4 separate regions of the Homo sapiens genome follow, and regions 2, 3 and 4 are each linked to region 1. The links are contacts of gene promoters, found by promoter capture Hi-C in human tissues and cell types (Jung and others, 2019). All regions are on one chromosome and are shown on one strand. Each heading gives the region's core, a stretch centred on a gene start or on the middle of the fragment in contact. The rest is flanking DNA. Distances are from core to core; before and after follow the strand shown. Region 1 holds the start of KIF26B (kinesin family member 26B). Region 2 overlaps KIF26B (kinesin family member 26B). Region 3 overlaps KIF26B (kinesin family member 26B). Region 4 overlaps KIF26B (kinesin family member 26B).

The links. Contacts are between HindIII fragments. The study calls those that stand out against the background at their distance.
Region 2: a fragment that was not itself captured here is called in contact with the fragment with the promoter of KIF26B in region 1 in 1 of the 25 tissues and cell types used here (heart right ventricle).
Region 3: a contact is called between a fragment that was not itself captured here and the fragment with the promoter of KIF26B in region 1, in 1 of the 25 tissues and cell types used here (bladder).
Region 4: a fragment that was not itself captured here is called in contact with the fragment with the promoter of KIF26B in region 1 in 1 of the 25 tissues and cell types used here (lymphoblastoid cells).

The regions. Positions count from the first base shown.
Region 1 is chr1:245,153,447-245,156,998 of GRCh38, forward strand. It overlaps KIF26B (kinesin family member 26B), which reads left to right and starts at 1,539. Exons shown (of 15, transcript NM_018012.4): 1 at 1,539-2,041; 2 at 2,836-3,237. The coding sequence starts at 1,979. RefSeq lists enhancers at 1-350, 351-1,026 and silencers at 881-1,080, 2,948-3,487. The HindIII fragment of the contact is 11,465 bases long and covers 1-3,552 here.
Region 2 is chr1:245,663,496-245,667,047 of GRCh38, forward strand. The region is part of intron 10 of KIF26B (kinesin family member 26B); the gene reads left to right. It overlaps LOC105373265 (a long non-coding RNA gene), which reads right to left. Exons shown (of 6, transcript XR_007066988.1): 6 at 2,668-3,552. Among named protein-coding and RNA genes, the nearest start is that of KIF26B-AS1, 430 kb to the left of the region's middle. The HindIII fragment of the contact is 6,064 bases long and covers 1-3,552 here.
Region 3 is chr1:245,573,817-245,577,368 of GRCh38, forward strand. All of the region lies in intron 5 of KIF26B (kinesin family member 26B), which reads left to right. Among named protein-coding and RNA genes, the nearest start is that of KIF26B-AS1, 340 kb to the left of the region's middle. The HindIII fragment of the contact is 4,893 bases long and covers 1-3,552 here.
Region 4 is chr1:245,497,564-245,501,115 of GRCh38, forward strand. The region is part of intron 4 of KIF26B (kinesin family member 26B); the gene reads left to right. Among named protein-coding and RNA genes, the nearest start is that of KIF26B-AS1, 260 kb to the left of the region's middle. The HindIII fragment of the contact is 4,253 bases long and covers 1-3,552 here.

The DNA.
Region 1 (3,552 bases), core at 289-2,788:
ACCTGCCCCCTAAGGTCCCCTATTGATAGGATCGCTTTTAAATTGGAAGTGGGAACGTAACGGAAACGTCCACTCTGTTCTTGCCATCTTCCTTTTGACCTTTTTACCTCGCTTTGGTGGCTGTGAAATATTCCCGCGCAGGAGCTGGAGCGGGGAGGAGTGGGGCAGAGCACGGGAGGCACAGAAGAAATTGTCCCCGAGGAAGGCAGAGTGGGGGCGTGGCCCCAGGCTTCCAGAACCCCGAACCTTTGTCTTCTTGCCCCCTCCTGCGTCGTCCACAGCTCAGAAGGAAGTCAGCGACCAGAAAGCCCTGAACGTCCTTCGCGCCCTCGCCCACCCCCGGGCTGGGTCTCCCCGCGGGCGCGGAGATGCCGTTACACCCCACGTGATCCCTGCGCCCGGCCAGTCCTTCCAGAGGCGTCTCGCGGGGTGTTAATTAAAGGTCACAACAAAACAGACCTGCTGGCTCACCAGAAGAAATGTCCTCCCGTGAAATGAAAAATGACACCCCAGAGCAGCCACGTGTGGAGCCTGGCATACGCCGGCTTCCTGCGCTCCTGGGCGCTGCGCCGGGGGACTGGGGCGGGGGGCGATCGGAGAGGGAGCGATGACGGGGTGCTCCGGAGACCCCGCGGGGCCCAGGCGCAGGAAGAAACGGGCGGCGGGGGGCGAGGGGCCCGATCCCACGCAAGGAGAGGCCAAGGCCAGCTCGCGCCACACCCCCTCTCCAGGCCAGAGTCGTCCGCGTGCAGCGCGGCGAAGCCCTCAGTTTCCCCTGCCCGGCAGCGGCCCGCTGGGTCACCAGGCTCACCTGTCCCAGCCCCGGGCGGCTTAGTCCATCACAGACCGGGGCTCGGGCGGGCGGGGGACCAAGGGCCCTAGTCCTGCGGCTGCGGTCGGGGAGGGTGGCCCCCCGGCCGGCCCGGGGTCGGTAGGGCAATTCCAGAAAAGGTTTGCCCGGCAGCTCTCCGAGAACAAAGGGCGGGGGGAGGACCCGGCATGTTTGTGGACTTGTTTGTGACTCAATCCCTTTTGCACGGCGTTTCACAGACAGACCTGCAAGCCTTGTCAGGAAGAGAAAGAACTTGGGGGCGGGGGAGGCTGGGGCACCGCATTTCCGTCCAGCCACGCTCGCTCGCGCGGCCCCCGGGCTCCAGGCTCGCGCAGCGGCGTTTCATTAGAGCCCCGGGCCCGGGCCGCGCGCCAGGAACTTCCCCGCACGCGGCGAGATCGACGATCCCCCGCCCCCAGCCCCAGCCCGGCTCCAGGCCTCGCAATGTCAGGCACGAGCGCCGCCACATAAAATGGATCCCGGCCGGCGCGGCGAGGGCGGCAGGTTCCCGAGGCTCCTCCGCGCTGCGCCCGGGCGCACACGCGCGCTGTGACCGCCGACCGCTCCCGGGCCACGCGGAGCCGCCCCTCTCCCGGCCCTCGCGCAACTGTCAGGCGAAACGGGCCGGCGGATATTGGCTCGGCGACACGCCGAGGCTCCTCCCCGAGTCTGGATCTTTATATTTTGGGAGAATTTCTTTGAACTCAGTTACCAAGCTCGGTGAAGGAGACAAGTTCCCACAGCTGACTCGGCTCGGCTCTCCCACCTTCCCGGCAGCGGCCGCGAGCCCTGATTGTATCCCTCGCTTTCCTCGTGGGGGAGCACGGACTGACTTGGCTGAAGAAAATGCCAGTTCTGTGGATGTGGCCGTGACAAGAGGACGTGCGGCTGGAAGAGGCAGAAGGGGACGAGGAAAAGCATGCTTTGAAGAGAAGAATAAACCAGCGACCCCAACCCTTTCTGCAAATTGGTGCTATTACTTGTGGGATCCATTTGCTTTCATTCCCTCCCACCCCACCGCTGAAGAAACCTTGCCCTGAGGGCTGAGAGCCAGCCCCCTGCAGCCGGGGGACGCTTCTGGGTTGGAGGACCTTCTGGATGTAGCGTCGGTGGAACCTTTAGATACTCTCCTCTGGAAAAGCCACCATGAATTCGGTAGCTGGGAATAAAGAGAGGCTTGCGGTCTCCACCAGGGGCAAGAAATACGGGGTAAGTTGTGACGGTACGACGCGGAGACGCGTTACCAGACCCATCTCGGCGGAGGTCCCCCTTTCCCCGGGATCGTGCGGCCCCGGCCCCGAGCTCTCCCCCGCTGCAGAGGCGCCCCCGGGGCTGGCGGGGTTGTGAGTGCGCGGAGGCGGGTCGGCCGCGGGGACGCCCGCACGCTCGCCTCGCTCTCGGAATTTTTTCAGCCCTCTCGTTCCTTCCTTTCCACGCACCCGTAACTTTTGCCGCATTCCTGCACTTCTAGGCAGAGTGAAGCCGAAGGGGAGGGTTTCCCATGAATGCTGGGCAGTACCTCGGATCGTTTAGCTGGAGCCGTGAGAGCCTCTCGTTTACCTGCAGGATCCGGAGAGTTGGACCCCGTATGAATAAAAATCCTGAAATCACAGCCCTCCCCCTACCCCCCCCATAGGGTCTTCCAGGATTTTGTTCCCGGGATCTTGCTGGGATAGGTGCCGGCTTCAAAAGCGTGGGGCGCTGAACCTATGGATCCCCCCCGCCTTGCAGAAGCCGTGGAAACGGCCCCGAGCGAGTCCCCTTCCTGACCCCAGGAGGAGGCCACCGGGGACCAGCGCAGGGGTCACCTGGGCGGTGGGGACTCACTTAAGGACAATTAACGAGACAGACGGAGGGCAATTTGGCCGCAGGGCTTGGAGAGGTCCCCAACCGACTCCCGTGGGCGGTTCGAGCGGGTACTTGGTGGCGCACGTATGACCCAGCTCCTGGGCGCTGCAGCCCGCCGCCTTGCAGCCCCTGACACCGGCGTGTCTTCCCCGCAGGTGAATGAAGTCTGCTCGCCCACCAAGCCCGCAGCGCCCTTCTCCCCGGAAAGCTGGTACCGGAAAGCATACGAGGAGTCGCGCGCCGGCAGCCGGCCCACTCCTGAGGGCGCGGGCTCAGCGCTCGGCTCCTCGGGGACCCCGTCTCCCGGCTCGGGCACCTCGTCCCCGAGCTCGTTCACCGGCTCCCCGGGACCCGCCTCCCCCGGCATCGGCACTAGTTCGCCGGGCTCCTTGGGCGGCTCTCCGGGCTTCGGCACAGGCTCCCCGGGCTCCGGCAGCGGCGGCGGCTCCTCCCCCGGCTCGGACCGCGGCGTCTGGTGCGAGAACTGCAACGCCCGCCTGGTGGAGCTCAAGAGGCAGGCCCTGAGGTTGCTCCTCCCGGGGCCCTTCCCGGGCAAGGTGAGCGCCGCGCGGGGCTGGCTGGGGAGGCGCCGGGAGGGCGGGGCCGGGCCGCCACCCACAGCAGCTGCTCAGCCCGCCGCGACCTTGCGCGCCGGCTCCACGCGAGAGCCCCCGGCGGCGCTGGGGATGCTCCACACCTCACGGGGCTCTAGCACGCGGGGCGACCCATGCCCCTTCCTCAGCCAGGCCGCCCGGGGGGCAGGAGGACCGAGTCCCGAGCGCGAAGGGGCGCCCGTGGCCACAGGCCTCACGGCCCACGGGGGAGGCCCCCAGGTGGTCTCTCCTGCCGCCCCCTCCCAGCTCTCCCTGGCG
Region 2 (3,552 bases), core at 371-2,870, 510 kb after region 1:
GTGGTTTCTGCTGGCTCTTTCTCATGGTGCCGTGTTTCTTTGTTTATTTGTGTCTGGGGGCTACTCATTTTCACTGGCATTTTATTTGTGAGAATTCTGCAAGCTCTGGGATAAAGATAGTTTACTCCAGACAGCATTTGTGTTTACTTCTACCAGGTGCCAGTTGAGGATAGTCTAAACTACATTCTCAGCTTGAAATATTTTTGACCACCCAGATATGGAGAACTAAGCGTGCAAACCTGCATGTAATTCAGACCAGGGTTCGCAATTCTCAGGACAGTTTCTTTCCCCTCTGCTCAGTGCTTATTTCAAGACAGTCATGTCTTGAATACCTACAAGGGACAATTATTGGGGGTTGATTTTCCTGTGAAAATTCACATGTGGAGCAGGCCTCCAGCTTTGACTGCTGCCACATAAAACTCAGCAGGGTGTTACCTGGCTGGGCAGATGTCTTTGGGGTGAAAGAAAGCTTGCCTGTTCTGCTTATTTATCTTGAGTTCCCAACTTCACTTGCTTTTTTTTGGCCTGAGGATTCTTTACCTTTTTGCAGGTTCAACAATGCATTTACTAAGACTTAAAAATAATATCCACGGCCGGGCATGGTGGCTCACGCCTGTAATCCCAGCATTTTAGGAGGCCGAGGCAGGCAGATCACCTGAGGTCGGGAGTTCAAGACCAGCCTGACCAACATGGAGAAACCCTGTCTCGAGTAAAAATACAACATTAGCCGGGCATGGTGGCGGGCGCCTGTAATCCCAGCAACTGAGGCAGGAGAATCGCTTGAACCCGGGAGGTGGAGGTTGCAGTGAGCCGAGATCACGCCATTGCACTCCAGCCTTGGCAACAAGAGTGAAACTCCATCTCAAAAAAAAAAAAAATCCACAACATTTAACTGTACTTGGTAAGAAGGTTTTCCTAGGAACCCAGCCTATCATATTGCTCCTTTGCTTTTTTTTTTCTCCTGTTACACACCTCTCCTTCTTTTAAATAAGTAAGGAGATCATATAACTTATTATCGAAGCCACTTTTGAGAGTGAAAAGGGACACTTAATTATTATTATTTCATGTTTTGAAATATTTTCTGACACAGCCGTCTATATTGGTGAACCTATAAAACAGTTCTATTCAAAAATTACTTTCAAACATGAAATGCTTTCTTAATAAAAGAAAATACATCAAAGTAGAAAAAGGTTAAAACTGCTTTATATTGTTTATCTGGACATTAAAAAATAAGCAGAATAATCACTTAATATACTTTTGTGTATTTTAATCATTGTCTTCACTATCTTCTAATACCACTTCAGTAGTATTTTTCTTAACACTATTTTTTCTATTGTTAATGTCAGGGCGTTTTTCTCCTTCACATAATCCAACTGCCTTACCTATATATTTACATATATGTTTATGTGCATTAACACATCAAACCATCTGTTTTTGATAACTGTGGCTTCTGTTTCTCTTGATAGAATATCACAGTTTGTTTAAAAATAAGTGTGAATTTATTCATACAACCACCAATTACAAGTTTATTTCAGTGAAATACATTTCTCAATTCAGTGAGAATATTGTGTGTTAAAGTTTCAAAGGATCTTCCCACAAGTCAATTTCCAGAGCATACTTGTAGAATTTCACATTTTAATCTTCTATACAGTTTGAGCTCTTGTCATCTATATTTCAGGGTCCCCTGTTTGCAAATTTTGTTTTTAATCATTGCAATTCATTACAGGCTTCAGAGGCTGAGCTTTTTGTGTTTCATTGGTTGAACACTTGATTATGGATTACAACTTATTTTGAACCACAAGCCATCAAAATTTAGATGACTTGTTTCCAAAACTGGAGTACTTTTTTTGTAGAGCATTTGGATTGACTCATGAAGTATGTTTTAAAGTTAAAAGCTGCCTAATGTCAGCAATTTCCTATCATTTCATTATTTCAAGTGTCAAATATTTCTCAAATCCAACTTGACAGGCAGCAAAGAGAGAACCGCACACTCTACTGATGAAATGTTTTTAATCCAATTTAAACTTCATAAAAAATTTTTGTAGTTCAGTTACTCTCAGTTTATGTAAATTTTACACATTTCAAAAACTATAGCTTGTGCTTCTCTGGGTAGAATTAGAACTGTGTTTGAGCTCAGTTATGAATTACATAGGTACATCAATTACAGGTACATTTCAGCATAATAAGTTTCTCAGCTTGGAACATTATATCTTTTTTTTATTTTTTATTTTTTTTGAGACTGAGTCTTTCTCCATCACCCAGGACTGCAACCTCCGCTTCCCGAGTTCAAGTGATCCTCCTGCCTCAGCCTCCCAAGTAGCTGGGACTACAGGCACGCACCACCATGCCCAGCTAATTTTTGTATTTTTGGTAGAGCTGGGGTTTCACCATGTTGCCCAGGCTGGTCTCAAACTCCTGACCTCCAGTGATCCACCCGCGGTCAGCCTCCCAAAGTCCTGGCATTACAGGCATGAGCCACTGCTCCTGGCTGGAACATTATGTCCTTTTTTTTTTTTTTTTTTTTGAGACGGAGTCTCTCTCTGTCGCCCAGGCTGGAGTGCAGTGGTGCAATCTCAGCTCACTGCACCTCTGCCTCCTGGGTTTAAGCAATTCTCCTCCCTCAGCCTCCCAAGTGGCTGGGATTACAGGCAGGTGCCACCACACTTGGCTAATTTTTTTTGTTTTTAGTATAGATGGGGTTTCACCATATTGGCCAGGCTGGTCTTGAACTCCTGACATTATGTCTTAAAGTGCTAACTCTGTTCACTGCACATAACCTCATATGTTCCTAGATGAGACCACTGAAATAGAAAGTGAAAGTCTATCCAATTCTTCCATCTCATTTTAATAAGTCTTAGTAATAACTACTTGTATTTTGAATAAAGAAATGAAAAATCCAGGACAAAATAAACCAGACAGGATGCAGGGTGATAGGCATACACTGAGACTTCTAGGCAAGTGAGCAACTGGTCAGCCGAATTAAAGCCCTTGGAGGGGTTCCTGTACCCTAGGTTCTTAATACATGCTTGTTGAATGAACAATCGGAGGTAGCTTATTTGTTTGAATAAGGCTTTCTGTGTGTTACTGCAAAGGAATGAGGATGGGACAGGTTTAGGCTTTGTAACAAGACCTCCCAAAGGCTAACACATAGGCGGCTGCTTCCTCGGCAAGCAGAGATGACGCTTGTGGCCCTTTTTGAAACACCTTTTTTACATGCCAGAGGTATTTAACTTGTCCGTACCAAATGGTACGGACAAGTTAAAAGGGTTATCCGCCCTTTTAACTCAAATATCCCGTTGGGATCAAACATTTTTGCTCTGGAGACCTTTGTACCTGTGCAGCATCAGTATAAGGATAGCCTGGGGGTGGTAACCCAGACACAGCTAACAGCGGGGTCTGAGTGGCTTGGCCAGAGTCTTGGCCTCAAATTGAGGGCACAGCAGTGGTTCTGACTGTTCCTCTTCGGGGAACGTTGTACATCAGGAGGGGCCTGATGGTAATGTTGGTGTAAAATGTCTCTGCTGTGATCCACCCTTGAAGACTGTGAGCTGT
Region 3 (3,552 bases), core at 430-2,929, 420 kb after region 1:
CAGGGCGGCTACTGAGTGGTTAACAGGCAGGCAGTGTAGACAGCAGGAGGTGCTGGGCAAAAGGAAGACTCACATCCCAGGCAGGACGAAATGAGATGGGGTGAAATTTCATCACACTACTCAGAATGGTGTGCAGTTTACAACTTATGAATTATTTATTTCTGGAATTTTCCACTTAATATTTTCAGACTAAGGTTGACTGTGGGTAACTCAAACCTTGGAAAACAAAACCGTGGGTAAGGGAAGACTGCTTTAAGATCTGAGAATGAGGACTGACATGTTTTGGTTTGGCTGGTGGTTTCAGATCCAACCTCAGTAGTTCCTAGAGACCATTTAATTTGTTTTTGAGATGGAGTCTCGCTCTGTTGTCCAGGCTGGAGTGAGTGGCGTGATCTCGGCTCACTGCAAACTCCACCTCCCGGGTTCAAGCGATTCTTGAGCCTCAGCCTCCCGAGTAGCTGGGATTACAGGCATGTGCCACCATGCCAGGCTAATTTTTGTATTTTTGGTAGAGATGGGGTTTCACCTTGTTGGCCAGACTGGTCTCGAACTCCTGACCTCAGGTGGTCTGCCCGCCTCGACCTCCCAAAGTGCTGGGATTACAGGTGTGAGCCACCATGCCTGACCGAGACCATTTAATTTGAATAAGTGCCCAAGAAGCAAAGGACTGAGCCAGGCAAGATGATCTGAGAGCAGGAAGGTGTGGCCAGGCTGGCTGAGCCATGAACAGGCTGGTTGCTCCAGGGCCGGTGTCTCCCCTGGAAGGTTCTGGAGTTCAGGCTGTGTTGGAGTCCACCTTCTGCCCCTCAAGTCCATGGCAGGGCCGTTGACTGCTGCTCTTGCCTGAGTCTCCTGGTTGCAAAGGCCAGGCAAGGCACTGCCTAACGTTGTGACTAACATCGTGGGTGTGACGGGGAGTCAGGGTGGCTTCTCTGTTGCCCCAAGTATGCCCTGCACATCACCATCTTCCTTTTCAAAGAATGGTGAAAATAGGAATTGTGCTCTTTAGGGAAGATTGTCTTTTTTATATCTTTTTCTTTTTTTTTTCTTTTTTTTTTTTTTTTTGAGACAGAGTCTTGCTCTGTTGCCCAGGCTGGAGCGCCAGTGGCGCGATCTCGGCTCACTGCAAGCTCCACCTCCCGGGTTCACGCCATTCTCCTGCCTCAGCCTCCCGAGTAGCTGGGACTACAGGCGCCCGCCACCACACCCGGCTAATTTTTTTGTATTTTTAGTAGAGACGGGGTTTCACCATGTTAGCCAAGATGGTCTCCATCTCCTGACCTTGTGATCCACCCGCCTCGGCCTCCCAAAGTACTGGGATTACAGGCTCAAGCCACCGCGCCTGGCCTTTTATATCTTTTTCAAAGAAAAAGGTAGGCTGGGGGCGGTGGCTCACGCCTGTAATCCCAGCACTTTGGGAGGCAGAGGCGAGTGGATCACCTGATGTCAGGAGTTCGAGACCAGCCTGGTCAACATGGTGAAACCTCATCTCTACTAAAAATACAAAAATTAGCCAGGCATAGTGGTGCACACCTGTAGTCTCAGCTACTCGGGAGGCTGAGGCAGGAGAATTGTTTGAACCCGGGAGGCAGAGGTTGCAGTAAGCTGAGATCGTGCCACTATACTCCAGCCTGGGCAACAGTGTGGGACTCCATCTCAAAAAAAAAATGTAGAAAAATAAAAACAATCATCTATTCATGGCTAGGTAGAGGTCAGATTTCACTCACTGACCTGTTTTTAGATTTTCCTTCGATATTCCAACTCTTAGATATGTCAGGTTGCTGGAGTTGCTGACTGCACTAACTTCTGCATTCTCCAACTTTCCCCTCAGAGAGTGGCTTGTCTAAATCACCCAAATTACCATGTGGGTGAGAATGTTGGGGAAATGAAGATTTAAAATCCACAATATTATTAGTGCTGTCAATATCATAATATCATAAATGTCCATACGAGGAAAGGAGACCTTGGCAGAGGCTACCTTTTCTATCTGTTTTGTGTGTGTGTGTGACATTCTTCATGAATGACTTCTTGAACTATGAAAATGAGGCAACTGTGGCCTGAACTCTCTCATTTGCCTCCTCCCCTTCCTGGCATTTACTTAAGACATTTCCTGATGCTTCCCGGGGGTGTTTCATGCTGGTGTCTAAGCCAGAGATCACACCTCCCACCCACCATGCCTGCACCTCCACTCCTGCAAAGGTTTTTAGAGTCAGGGTCCCTATCAGTGTCTAAGCATCAGGCTCTTCAGACCCTGACCTTTGAAAAGTCCAAATGGCTCTTGAGTGCCCCATTTTCTCCCAATCTGAAAACTGTAAGAATGAAATATAACAATTAAGCCTCAGAGGATCACAAGCGCAGGTGATCCTCATGAGCCCAGACTGATATTTCTAAATTATCTAGATCTTCCTTGAACATAGACTCCAGAGTTACCGGGACGCAGCGTTCCCATTCCACTGGGCAGCCATCTATACGTGAAGTGTCATTGTTGGTGGTTTGGGAGTTTTATTTTCCCTTTCATAACACGTCTCCTGTCTCCTCAGCTCCCCCAGAACTCCCTGTAATCATATTTGCTATCAGTTGTGTTTGTGGAGGTGTAGTGAATTTTTCAGGGATGAATACCAATGCTGAGACCCTCCAAGAAGACCTGTGAGGTCAGCCTCTGTCAGCGTGACAGCCCAGTGGGAGGGGGCCCCAAGCTACACAGCAGGAGATGATTGTCACACGTCCTGGTGAGAGAGCCTGCTCACCAGCTCTGGACCTGCACTCCGTGTGCCTGGCCAGTAGATAGGTTTCCCTGGTGTTCCCCAGGCCTTTTCTGCTTCATGACATTGATTATATAGCTAGCATTTCATTTCAGTAGGGCTTGGGAAAGGGGGTTCTTTATTGCAGCTCCTGTAAAAACCCATTTCCACACGAATCACCTCTGGCCTTTTTCTGTCTGGCACATTGTTTAGACAGGAGGGGTTTGTGTGTATCACTTCCCTCCAGCCTCTCCTAAGTGGAAGCCTGGGATTTGGAAATTGGGATTTTTTTCCTTCTCTCTAAATGAATGCCTTGTTGGATACCTTGTTGATAAAATGCCATTTCTCACATCTTTATAGCTTAAGGGGCTACCTTAGCCACAAGGCACAGTCCCTTATTACTGATAAGAGCTACTGTCATTTCACTTATATACTTTGGGAGATTCATTTTTGCTTCTCAGCATCATTTATGTTATGATTCATATCTAAATTTAAGGTAAAATTTTATGCTTCACCATCGACTTTTCAAAGTTTGTCTTTGAAAATGATTTTTAAAATGATCTAATCCAAACCTCTCAGTTTACAGGTGAGAAAACAAATCTAGGGCAGAGTTTTTCCACAGGGGCACGAGTGATGTCATGGACCAGATGTTTGTGTCGTAGGGGGATGCCTGGTGCACTGTAGGGCATTTCCTGGGATCTCAAGCTTCTATCCTCTGGATGCCAGTAGCACCCTCCAAGTTGTGACCAACAAAAATGTCCCCTGTCACACAGCTAAGTCATAACAGAGTCAGGCATAAGACACGGGTGTC
Region 4 (3,552 bases), core at 606-3,105, 340 kb after region 1:
AGTGGATTTCAGACAATAGTTTGAAATGAAATGATGAAAATTTTACACGTCAAGCGCTAACTAACCACTCACCCCTGAAGTGTGTATTCCTAAGGTACTTCAAATATTAAATAACTACTCCTATAATGTAAATTAATAACTAACCCACACATTATTATACTATGTATACTGAAGGACTGTTATTTATTTATTTATTTTAAGACAGAATCTTGCCCTGTTGCCCAGGCTGGAGTGCAATGGCGTGATCTCAGCTCACTGCAACCTCCGCCTCCTGGGTTCAAGTGATTCTCCTGCCTCAGCCTCCTGAGTAGCTGGGATTACAGGCATGTGCCACCACACCCAGCTAATTTTTATATCTTTAGTAGAGACAGGGTTTCACCTTGTTGGCCAGGCTGGTCTCAAACTCCTGACCTCGTGATCTGCCTGCCTTGGCCTCCCAAAGTGCTGAGATTTATTCTATCATATTATCATTCATCTCAAACTCCATATGTAACTTGCAGTTGATTTTTCAACATTCAAACATCATTTATTATTATCCATCAAATTGCCATCTTGTTCCATTTCCCTGCATATCTCCTTTCTGTGTAGAAGTCTTCCTTCTGGGAGCAGGACGAGGTAAGTGAGATGAGAGCCTGGGCTGTCACACTTTATATTCTAATATTTTTAACCCAATTTGCTTTAGTGTGGTCAGAGAAGCTGGAAATTGAATCAGAGACCTCAGGGGCAACTCAGGTGATAAGTCAGCCTGGATGTGAAGTTTATCAGTCTTGGCTCCGTGTGTTTAATTAGAAGCTAGTGGAATGTTATCATTGACTCCGCCAGCAAACATCTTCACTGGAGAGGCAGCTGGGTTAAGGAAGAACATGCTGAAAATAGAGCTTATGAACATAGCTGAAAACTGTTTATCCACAGCAACCAGCAGAAGTGAGGGGCGGGAGAGAGCCCAGCAGTTGGCAATCAGAGCGTGCATATAAGCAAAGGGATCATTTCTTCCAAGCTGTGTCAGAGGGCACTCAATCATGTATACTGAGCTTTCTTCCTGAAAAGATAGTTCAAATCTGTGTGGATTGTCAAGTTTTCTTCCTCTCCATAATATGGTCATTAATATTTCACTTCTTTTAGCCAGGAACTTTCAATAATTCAACATCTGCTCTTCCAGGCTGCCTGCAAGAAAGGCCAGTTTCCACCCACTGCCCTCCTGGGTTTGTCCTTCCAGGTACAGAATCTGAGAGGTACTGGGGAAAAGAGGAGGCAACGAGGCTAGTCTCTCACTCCTCTCTCTTCCCTACCTGTGTTTCTTGGACGGGTTCACATTCTTCTTGCATCAGATAGTAAATGCAGTCAAGGAACTGGTGAGGAAAATGGGAAGTTTTTTTGTGCATGTGTTAGATGGGAAGAGGAAAATTGGCAAGTGTTCTTTAAGAAAAGCAGACACAGTTACATTCATGAGGCAACCGGTTGCCAGACTAGTGTGACTCCTGAAGGAACAACTTGGATTGCCTTTTTTTTTAAAATCAGTTTTTATCTAGACCAAATCTCTTTTATTTCAGTGATGTCAAGCAGCTCATGTTACCTTCGCCCAAAGAGAAAGATGTATGGGAGCTTCAAACTCAGGACAATTCTCAATGTCCTTAGCGTTGACTCATATTAAAAATGTTAAGAGAACACTAGAATAATAGTGATGTGTGTGTGTGTGTGTCTGTGTGTGTTTGTGGTTTCCTTTCCTGGAAACCCTTTCTAGGATTAACCTAGGTTAATCCAACATAATGATAGTCTGAAGAGGTTGAATAAATCAGCCCAGATACGCAGGTGATTTAGCCAAGGCTACATGGTGAGTCTAGGGGCAAAGCCGAATAAGGGTGGAGTCCCTAATTCATAGCTAACCTGCACTGCCATAGTCTATCGGAAGTGAGGTAGAGATTATTATCTGATTTTATTATTCCGGGACACGTAAACTTGGCTGAGGACACACAGCTCGGAACCCTAGCCCATAGATAAATAGACAACTTTATAGAGTATAATTTGAGTAAGCCAAAAAGTTTCCACTTACATATATTCTAGACCTCCACTTTAAAGTAATTTGAGGGGGACAGAGAGGCAAAGTGAGCAGCATTTCTTCAGAAATCACGTTGTCTGGAAATAGCTCAGTAGTGCGCATGGCACTCCGTTAGCCAATTGCTGTCCTGGGCCTGGAGGGCCATAGAGCTGGACAGAGGCCTTGTTTTGTTTGGTTCGGTTTGTGCTTGTGGTATTCAGGCTGGTAGGTCTGATGGCTGGTAAAGTGCTAAAGCAATCATGGGTGCGAGGTACACAGTGGGGAATGTATCAAACGGTCACTTTCCTAAGGGAGACATTCTCCCCCTTCTAGGAATTTGCTGAGGGTTGGGCTGAGTGGAAGCGTTTCCTTCCTGCCTGTTCTCTGACTTCCAATGCGCACTTTGTTTTAGGCTGGATAGCTACACATCATCAATGAGATTGCAGACAGTCCCTGTGCTTGCTAAGAACGGTGGAAGGTTTTAGGACTACTGTGTCTTACATATTCATTGTCTAAGCCCCCAAGTGTACAGCATTCAAAGCTATTCCTTCCAGCTCTGAAATTTCTTTGGGTGAAAGCTGTCGACTTTCCTTAGAGGAAAAAGAAAGCCATTTCATCAGGGCACTGACCTCATTCCTGTAAGCTTGACTGGCTGAGCCCTGGGAGTGACACCTGTCCCAGTCTTTGGCTTTAGCAAGTGATTGATTTGAAGAAATGGTATTGGTCATTTAACCCACAAACTGATTCTGAAATAAGACTCATTTGTAATAAATACATCTCACATTTGAGGACTGAATTCTTCAACACACATTCCAAGTTTTGTCAGTTAGAAAAAATACAGTACTTTGTAAAGTATAAAATCCATAACTCTATATAACCCAAACAATAGGTTGAAAACTGGGTTTGTTGTAAGTAACGTATTAATAACACCTGGTGTAATACCTGTTAACATGCTCGGTGCCTGAAGCAAATTGGCAAGCGTTTCATCTCCTTTTGCCAATAACTTGTCAGAAACTGACTGAGGGTTCCTTCCAAACTCTCAGAAGAACATCCAAGGCCAGGCAGCTTATGTAGCTCTTGAACTTCACCAGGGCGAGGGCTGGGCCCCGGCCAACTAGAGAAGCCACAGCTGAATCAGAGGAGGAATTCCGAAGAGCTGGGCAGGGGCCTCCTGATGGCGAGATGCTGAATGGGATAAGAATGTGATGAATTAATTGATTTGTATCTTACGCAAGAGCTGCAGTGAGGATGGTGAAATTCATTTCCTTCCATAGGTCCTGCCCCTTTCTTTGTAAGTCAGTCAGCAGCATTGCCAGAGCTGCCTAAAATGCCACCTCCATCCCCTGACAATCAAAGAGGAATCTTTTCATGCAGGCTGAGTTCTAATGACGAACTCATTAAAATCAAGACCACTTACTATGCGTATGTGATGTGTTATAAGCACTTTCAGATGCATGATTTTAAACATTCTGGCCATCCTGTGAGGTCAGTACCATATTATCCCCATTTCGTGGACA